Regions from separate parts of the Homo sapiens genome. Here region 1 is linked to region 2. Evidence: promoter capture Hi-C in 16 types of primary human blood cells and fetal thymus (Javierre and others, 2016). All regions are on one chromosome and are shown on one strand. The core of a region is centred on a gene start or on the middle of the fragment in contact, and the rest is flanking DNA. Distances in the headings are between cores, read along the strand shown. Region 1 has its middle 120 kb from the start of LINC02104. Region 2 holds the start of MROH2B (maestro heat like repeat family member 2B).

Region 1 (4,794 bases), core at 1,382-3,881, 1.4 Mb before region 2:
GGATGACAGAGTTGCAAGGTGACAGGAGCCAGCATCCCTGGTGATTAGTGAAGCTCAAGCCTTCTTTTAAGTGAAAGAAAAAACAGTGTCTAGTTTTAAAAAATCATTATTTTAGATTTTCTTGCTTTAGAACAGAATTCTAACAGAAACATCCACTTTCCCTCAAAAAAAAAAAAAAAGTCAGTTGAGGCTTCACTTTAGAAATTAACATTCATCTGGACCTGGAGAAGCCCCTACATCTGTTCTGATTTGCATAGCACTAGAAGTTTTGGTTCAGTTCTAAGTCATTAGAATAGGTCAGGGACTTTTCAGCAGTCAGCCTTGTGACTGGGGATAGAGGCAGGACGAAGAAGAGACTGGTCTACTTCAGCATGTGTCTCAGTGGCATTAACTTATTTCATGACATCTAGAGGGTTAGGCTGGATTGGGATAAAATATGTGAAGTAAGGCCTTTGCATTCTCCTTGTGCAGACATTTATCCAGCCACAGGGTTTTAAAAGAAGGTCAAGCCATCCCTTCTATGGATTCTGTGAGATTTCTTCCTCAGTTTGCTTGATATCTTAGTTTTTCCCAGTTTTAATAAATATCTTCTTCGGTATGCAAATGTTGGTATTTTTTCCCTGAAGAAGCTCTCAATTTCCTGATGCTTTAGTCCAATAATTACACATAGTGGGCAGGCCATTAAAAACATATGGGTCAACATCCTGCTGTCTATTTCTGTTGGTATCACAAATGGACTGCTCTTCTTTATTAATTCAACAAATATTTATTGAGTACTACATGTTAGTGCCTGATGTTGTAGCAATAAAATGGTAGACAACACAAAATAAATTTCATTGATTCATGCCTTTTATACTTTTTTTGTGAGAAAAATGCTTTTTTTCCTCATTTTTTAATTTGAACTCTTGACTCATGATGTTTTCTATCTTTCTTGTTTTTCTATAGTCCATGGTTTTGGTGTGCTATGCAAACAAAGAGGATTTTTCACTTCTAATGGGATCCCCATTAAAAATATACCCCAAGTGTACGGGCTTCTTTCTGTTACTTTGTTGCCCTCACAAGTTGCTATTAGTAAAATTGAAGCTTTTTATAAAACTGAAACTGAATATCAAGAAAATGCTCTACCCGACTTCCATTTTCAATTAATAAGTAATACGGTATGCAATCTAAAGAATTCCATAAGATTGATTCCAATCAAATAACCACCTATGATAATTTATTCAATAATTGATGCTGTGCACCTGAATTAGAAAAGAAAAGAAAATTGACACTTAAAAGATTCAAATTTAACACTAAATGTGAACTCACTGAGAGCCCAGATGGACACCTTGTCATCACTGAGTCTTCAAAATAGCCACTATTAAAAGATCTACACTACATAACTCACCATAATATAGTCAAAACGGTCCAGATTATGAAAAAGTATGGGGGTTATTGTTCTAAAGTTGCAAAAAAGGTTTATAACTAGTGTCTGATTTGTCATATTCCTAATTTGAGAAAAGCCATTAAGGTTCCAGGTGGTACATGTTTAGTATCTGCAAGATCATTTTCACCCCTACAAATAAACTTCATTTATCTGCTATCCTCCATGGCTTATCAGTATGTTATGTAACTGTATGCCTGTTCTCAGGATAGATTGGAGCCTTTCCATGCAGGAAGGTTGATGCCACAACAGTGGCAAATTATCTGTCTATCTATCTATCTATCTATCTATCTATCTATCTATATCTATCTATCCATCTGTATATACTAGAAAATGTATTTCCTTCATGAAGTGTCCTTGGAGAGATTTCCAATGATAGGAGAACTCATTTTACTGGACAAATTATTAAACAATTAAATAAAGTTTTACAAACAAGATGACATTCTCATTGTCTTTACCATCCTAGTCTTCTGTAAAGGTTGAATGGACAAATGGTATCCTAAAACTAAATTTGGCTATATTAACGGAATTCATTGGATTGCCGTCACCAAAAGTTTTACCACTGACTTTAATGATAATTAAATCTACCCCTACTGCAATGCGCAAGCTGACACCTTTATAAAATAGTAACTGGAATACCTGTGCCCTTCATGATAAAACCTCATGTATTTCTTATATTTGTAATCGCTGACATGACTCAATATTGTGAGGCTTTGATACATTATGCCAATGCATATTTTCATTAGGTTAAATAAGCTTCTGTGACTCACTGATTCATGATCAGATTTTCCACCATCTAGAACCTGGAGACTGGGTCTTTTGGAAACGATATCAAAGAAAGACTACCCTTGAACCTTGTTGAAAGGGAACATACTAAGTTTTTCTCATAATTCACACTCCAGCAAAACTTCAAGGCCTTGAATCTTAGATCTATGTCTCTCAACTGGAGGGGGGCCCCCTCAATTTATGGAACTACATGCCAGTTGGTAATCTAAAGATAAAGCTGACCAGAAAGATCTTTCTCCAGAAGCAGATGACATCTTAAATGTAAACAGCTTTCCCAAGAACCTCCTCTCTCCATCATGAACCCCCTATTTCTTTTCCTCTCCTATTTCTTGCTCCTCCTTTTTATCTTTGCATGGAATCTAACGGGTTGGGCATGGTAGCTCATGCCTATAATCCCAGCATTTTGGGAGGCCGAGGAGGGTGGATCACCTGAGGTCAGGAGTGCGAGACTAGCCTGGCCAACATGGCGAAACACAGGCTGTATTTTAAAAAAATTCAAAATTAAAAATATTCAAAAATTAGCTGGGTGTGGTGGCAGGTGCCCATAATCCCAGCTACTCAGGAGGCTGAGGCAGGACAATCGCTTCAACCACGGAGGCAGAGGTTGCAGTGAGCTAAGATTGTACCATTGCACTCCAGCCTGGGCGATAAGAGCAAAACTCCGTCTCAAATAAATAAATAAATAAATAAATAAATAAATAATCTAACAGTCAATAATAGCTTTCACAGAAAATTTAACTGAATGCTGGATTTACACACTAAGCCAAAATCTTTGCATGACTTTAGAGATCCTTTCCTCCACATTGTAACTGAAATAACTAGAATCCCAAATGCAACCATCTGTTTAGATTGCACAGCTGGTTTCTTCTTTAGTTAAGCTTCTGGACCCATTTATTTTTAACCCTTGTTTTAATATAACCCCAATAATGGATTGGGCTGACCAGGTCTGCTCATATTGGAAGAATGTTATGATATATACATATGAACATAAATAGATATATCTGCAAGAATGCCTATGTACCTATGTCTTTTGACAGGCTTTCAGTATATAATAACTTAACATCAGTCTCTTGGTTAAACTAGAAACTGCCAATGCCTCTATTCCAACTAATGGTTGTATAAAAGAAATCACCCAAGGTAGAGGCTTATGCCCACCCCCTGGGTATATCTTTATCTCTTGAGAATTTACCTCTCAGCCATATATTTGGACCACCCTATGTCTTTACAGATGGAGAATTAAAGGCCAATGAAACCTAGACATTTTATTCATTCATCTATTTGTTCTTGCTGAGTAAATAATTTTATTTTTTTTCAGCTTTTATTTTAGGTTCAGTGGGTATATGTGCAGGTTTGTTACATGGGTAAATAGCATGTCATTGAGGTTTGGTGCACAAATGATTCCATCACCCAGGTAATGAGCACAATACCTAGTAGTTTTTCAACCCATTCCTCCCTCCAACATCCCATATTAGTCCCTAATATCTACCGTTGTCATTTTTATGTCCATGTTTACCCAATATTCAGCTCCTCCTTATAAGTGAGAACATGTGACATTTGGTGTTTTGTTCCTGCATTAATTTGCTTAGGATAATGGCCTGCAGCTGCATCCATGTTGTTGCAAAGGACATGGTCTTGCTCTTTTTTATATCTGTATAGTATTCCATGGTGTATATGTACCATATTTTCTTTATCTGGTACACTGTTGATGGGCACCTAGGTTCATTCCATGTGTTTGCTATTGTGAATAGTGCTGCAATGAACATATAAGTGCATGTGTCTTGTCTGTAGAATAATTATTTTCCATTAAGTATATATCCAGTAGTGATATTGAAGAAACTATCAGCAGAGTAAACAGACAACCTACAGAATGGGAGAAAATATTCACAAACTATGCATCTGACAAAGGTCTAATTTCCAGAATCTATAAGAAACAAACAATTCAACAAGCAAAAATCAAACAACCCCATTAAAAAATGGGCAAAGGACGTGAACAGACACTTCTCAAAAGAAGACATCCATGTGGTCAACAGATACATTAAAAAATGCTCAACATCACTAATCATTAGAAATTTTAATAGTGCATTGTTTCTCCCTATCCAATCAGAAGCTAAACATTGGTCTACCCCTCTAAATATATTATAGATTAAGCAAAAACATACCAGCAGATGTATAGAGAGGTCAAGAAGAATCTGGGCAGGCCTTGATAGATTTTTTCACTCAGTCTATTACTGTTAGCTCGTACATTTTTTTTGTTTGTTTGTTTAACCATATTTCTACATGACTGTCCCTACTTCAGTGAATGGAAGCATAAAATCAGATAGTTTCCCCTGTATCTTTGAGTCTTCATTCTGAAGGCTCCCATGTCATGAAAAACTGATGAATTAAATTTGTTATGCTTTTCTCTTGTTAATCTGCCTTTTGTTATAGGGGTGTTGGCCAAGACCCTTAAGATGGGGAGGAAAGGAATCACCCCCTCTCCACCCCAATATGACAATGCTGCATCACAGCACTCTGAATCTTTTTTTGATTCAAAGTACTATCCAATTTATGAATTGTTCTTTGCTCAAATAAACTTTATTAAATTT
Region 2 (4,237 bases), core at 284-2,783:
TTATTTTGTAATCAACACAGAAAGTTCATTCATTCATTTATCCTCTCTCTCTCTCTCTCCCTTGACTGCTAGCTCTTTGATGGCAGGAACTGTTTTATTCATATCCATGACATAAATGAAACTAGCAGATGCTAAGTTATTATTATTTTTGAAACCTGAATCAAATGTGAAAGGGAAGATAAAAGATGCCGGATTCCTATGTATCCCTCCAGGCAAGTGGGCATTGCCTTGTAAATTCTCTCTTGCAGGATTTAGCTCTCAGAGTCAATGAGGTGAATTTCTCACTCCTGACTTAAGCATTAGAAGGCAGGGGTGCAACATAGCTGTTTATTTTTCACTGGTCCTCCCCTCAATACCTCTCCCATCTTCTTTTTCCATACCCTTTTCAACTCCACCTATTCTCCTGTGCCTGCCAACTCCCTCTTTTGGTCACATGCTAATGAAGGCTTCCTGTTTTCTGACAATGACCTAAATGTGTTTGACTTGCATTTTCTAGGAATATATGTTTTTGAATAAAGCACTCTAGAAAACTGGAAAAAAAATTGAGTCAAAGGAATTGAGCAATTTCAAGCTACATGGCAAGTTGGTAGGAGAAATACTTTTGGAGATGAAGATTTCTTATTAACCTCCACACCAAACAACATACTCATTTAGGGCAATCTTTTTGGCAAAGTAGAAAGGCAGCCATACCTGGAAATTGGGAGAAATACTTCCAAAGGACTCTTCTAGTATTTAAAATTAAATAACAAACTGCCTTTCTTTGATATGTAGCCACTTTCTCCTCAGGTAGACTCTAAATTTTAAAGCACAACCATCTCTTAGGCTTCCAGTCTATTATTGGTCCTTCACAATCAGCATGATTTTATTATGTATTTAGCATACCATTTCATAAATCCTTTGAGGTGTACAGTCCTCCCACAATGACGCGCCACTCCCAGCCCTCATATATACTTATAATTCCACAGAAACAAAACACAGGGAAGAGCCTTGGCTTCTCAGGATCTGATGATGCTTACCTATGGATTCCTCTGTACTAAGTGTCATGTCTTGGCTGTTTCAGGGTCTCTAAAAGATAGCACCTAAGTATTAGAAATAGTAAGGCTAAAAAATCAAAGAGGCAGGTTGGCAAGTTTCTCATATAAGGTTCACATAAGCCTCTCTAAATGAAAGTGCCTCCTCCACTTGATTGGCACAATGGTCTGGGAGCTTCCAGAGATGGGCTTGCTGTTGAAGTTGATACTGTATTCTACCACTATGACATTGTCTTGCGTCTGAACTCCTGCTAACCAACAAAATGGCTGCATCTCACCAAATATTGTCCCTTTGGTGACCAGAGTATTTGGGAAAGAAGTAATTAGAGACTGGGATTCAAACCATTGTTGCAGACCAAAGGTGCTCCTCTCCCTAAACTTGAGTCCATTGATCACAAATTCAGGAATGGTTTTCAGTAGTTGCTTTACTGTCCTGATGTTGGGAAAGGCTTTATGGTGAACTCGTTGATTGTTACACTTAGTGAAAATCAGTCATATGAACTGAGCATGCTCAGTGGACTGGAATGCACTTCAGGGGCAGTTGGATGGAATGTCCAACTGACAGCAGCAAAGTGAAGACCTCTCTACCTCCCTCTCCATTAATTCCTCCCTGGCATGTTCAGGATCTTGGCCTCACTCCAGGCTCAGGCTTTTTCTCTGTCTTCAGCTTTCTTTTTGTTTTCAAATTATTTTTTATCTAGATCAATTTTCCATAATGTTTTCAACTTATCTAGCATGAATTGAAATCTGGTCCCCAACTATAAATCTATGTGATGACAATCTTCAATATATGTCCAGACTCTATGTGAATATGGAGGATGATAGAGAAAGGGAAGGCAGTACTGCTAGTCTATAGGGCTAAATGTAGAATGGGCTGAGGAGGGGAGCTCATGACAATTTTCATCTGCTGCTGCTTTTTTGGCCATCTTAACTTCATCGGTGAAGCTTATTCCAGATTCAAAGGTCAACTGCTTCCAACTAAACCTTTGAATTCATCATTCTTCTCATAGACATTTTGCACTGTATTAAAGAGATCCTCAACATTTTCCGCTTCCCAAGTCAGCATCACTTTCAGAGTTTTGTCTCCAGGTGACTTTATCATGGGATTTACTTGGTATCCTTATTTAAAATGTGAATTCCCAGGCCCCACTTCAGACCCAGTAAATTAGAATGAGGGGGCAGCAATCTATATATTTAATGTGCGCCCCTGGTGATTCTTAGGTTCACTGAACTTTGAAAAGCACTGACCAAGGTCCTTGCCCAAACATTCATTAGTGGATCAGTAAATAGCAGTTAACTGAAGAATGTTTGTTGTGGTTGGGCAAGGAGCTCTTCCCCAGCATCATGACTCACTGAAGAATAGGCCAAGTTTGGTTAGTCAGGGAGGTACTGGGGTGATTAGAGGCATCCCGAAACTCTTAACATCTATAAGATGTTAAGTCTACTTGTAGTAAATAAAACAACAGATTCCCTATAAGGGAAAAAATGATGTTAGAAATTATGTGCTCTTAGAGTCTTAAAAAACAATGTACAGCAGAATCAATAATAAGAAAGCTAGCCATTTAGGTAATTGTTACAACCATTTTCTTAATATTTTTGTGAATGGTGACAAATGATTTTTCTGTATGTCTGTATATAAAGACTTCCTTGATTTCATAGAGATTAGAGAAGTTAGGAGATAATTGATTTATTTTGACTTTTAATTTATTCATCGCTGCAATCAAAACACAACTTTTTGCTAAAATCCTTTCAGACAAAGTAAATTCACTCATTGAAACCAATACTGCAGATAGTTTTAAAATCCCCAAATCCTCAAAATAGCTGATTTGCTGTCATTTTATTTCATTTTTCAGTCGCCTGCTTGTTACATCTTCCCATTATTTCTTCCTCTTCTCATTGCATGAGGCTAACACAATATGGATTTGATTTCTCTAAGACTCTAAGAGGATCCTAAACACGAATTCTCAAAGTGAATAGGATGGCATGTGCTAACTAATTAAGTACTGTTTCTAGATATTTGTGAGGGAGCCTAAATCTAGCCTGCTAAGGAATTAGAGTGTCTCACTGGATATGTGGTAGCCATCCCCTTTCAATGTAACTTGTCAAATGAAGCTACCCAATCCCAGGCCTACTATGTTCCCACATGATGTTATCAGACAAAAATATTAATAAGGCAGTAAAGGTAAAATATAAAGCTAAAGAAGAATAGATACATAGAAATAATACAGAAACGTTATAAAAATTTAAATTTTATGGTTTTAATAGTTTAATTGTAGATGATTTTAATGTATACTACAATTAATCTAAACTTTGATATTTATCCTTTTATTCTTCAGATGACGTGTTAGATTTTTATAAAATATATTAAAAGTGAAATTAGGCTGTGTTTTGTTTGATTTGTCAGTTTCATGAGATAAGCCTAATTTCTTTTTTAAAAATTTTATTATTATTATACTTTAAGTTCTAGGGTACATGTGCACAACGTGCAGTTTTGTTACATATGTATACATGTGCCATGTTTGTGTGCTGCACCCATTAACTCGTCATTTAGCATTAGGTATATCTCCTAATGCTATCCTTTCCCACTCCCCCCACCCCCCAACAGTCCTCAGTGTGTGATGTTCCCCTTCCTTTGTCCATGTGTTCTCATTGTTCAATTCCCACCTATGAGTGAGAACATGCGGTGTTTGGTTTTTTGTCCTTGCGATAGTTTGCTGAGAATGATGGTTTCCAGCTTCATCCATGTCCCTACAAAGGACATGAACTCATCATTTTTTATGGCTGCATAGTATTCCATGGTGTATATGTGCCACATTTTCTTAATCCAGTCTATCATTGATGGACATTTGGGTCGGTTCCAAGTCTTTGCTATTGTGAATAGTGCCGCAATAAACATACGTGTGCATGTGTCCTTATAGCAGCATGATTTATAATCCTTTGGGTATCTACCCATTTATGGGATGGCTGGGTCAAAAGGTAATTCTAGTTTTAGATCCCTGAGGAATCGTCACACTAACTTCCACAATGCTTAAACTAGTTTACAGTCCCACCAACAGTGTAAAAGTGTTCCTATTTCTCCACATCCTCTCCAGCACCTGTTGTTTCCTGACTTTTTAATGATTGCCATTCTAACTGGTGTGAGATGGTATCTCATTGTGGTTTTGATTTGCATTTCTCTGATGGCCAGTGATGATGAGCATTTTTTC

Evidence for each region. The method cuts DNA at HindIII sites, captures the fragments that hold promoters and counts their contacts. A CHiCAGO score of 5 or more calls a contact.
Region 1: a contact is called between a fragment that was not itself captured here and the fragment with the promoter of MROH2B in region 2, in 1 of 17 cell types (activated CD4 T cells). The highest score is 5.8, in activated CD4 T cells.

The regions. Positions count from the first base shown.
Region 1 is chr5:39,640,459-39,645,252 of GRCh38, forward strand. No RefSeq gene overlaps it. Among named protein-coding and RNA genes, the nearest start is that of LINC02104, 120 kb to the left of the region's middle. The HindIII fragment of the contact is 908 bases long and covers 2,178-3,085 here.
Region 2 is chr5:41,069,809-41,074,045 of GRCh38, forward strand. It overlaps MROH2B (maestro heat like repeat family member 2B), which reads right to left and starts at 1,534. Exons shown (of 42, transcript NM_173489.5): 1 at 1,017-1,534. The coding sequence starts at 1,044. It overlaps LOC105374739 (a long non-coding RNA gene), which reads left to right and starts at 1,549. Exons shown (of 6, transcript XR_001742650.2): 1 at 1,549-2,120. The HindIII fragment of the contact is 2,936 bases long and covers 1-1,974 here.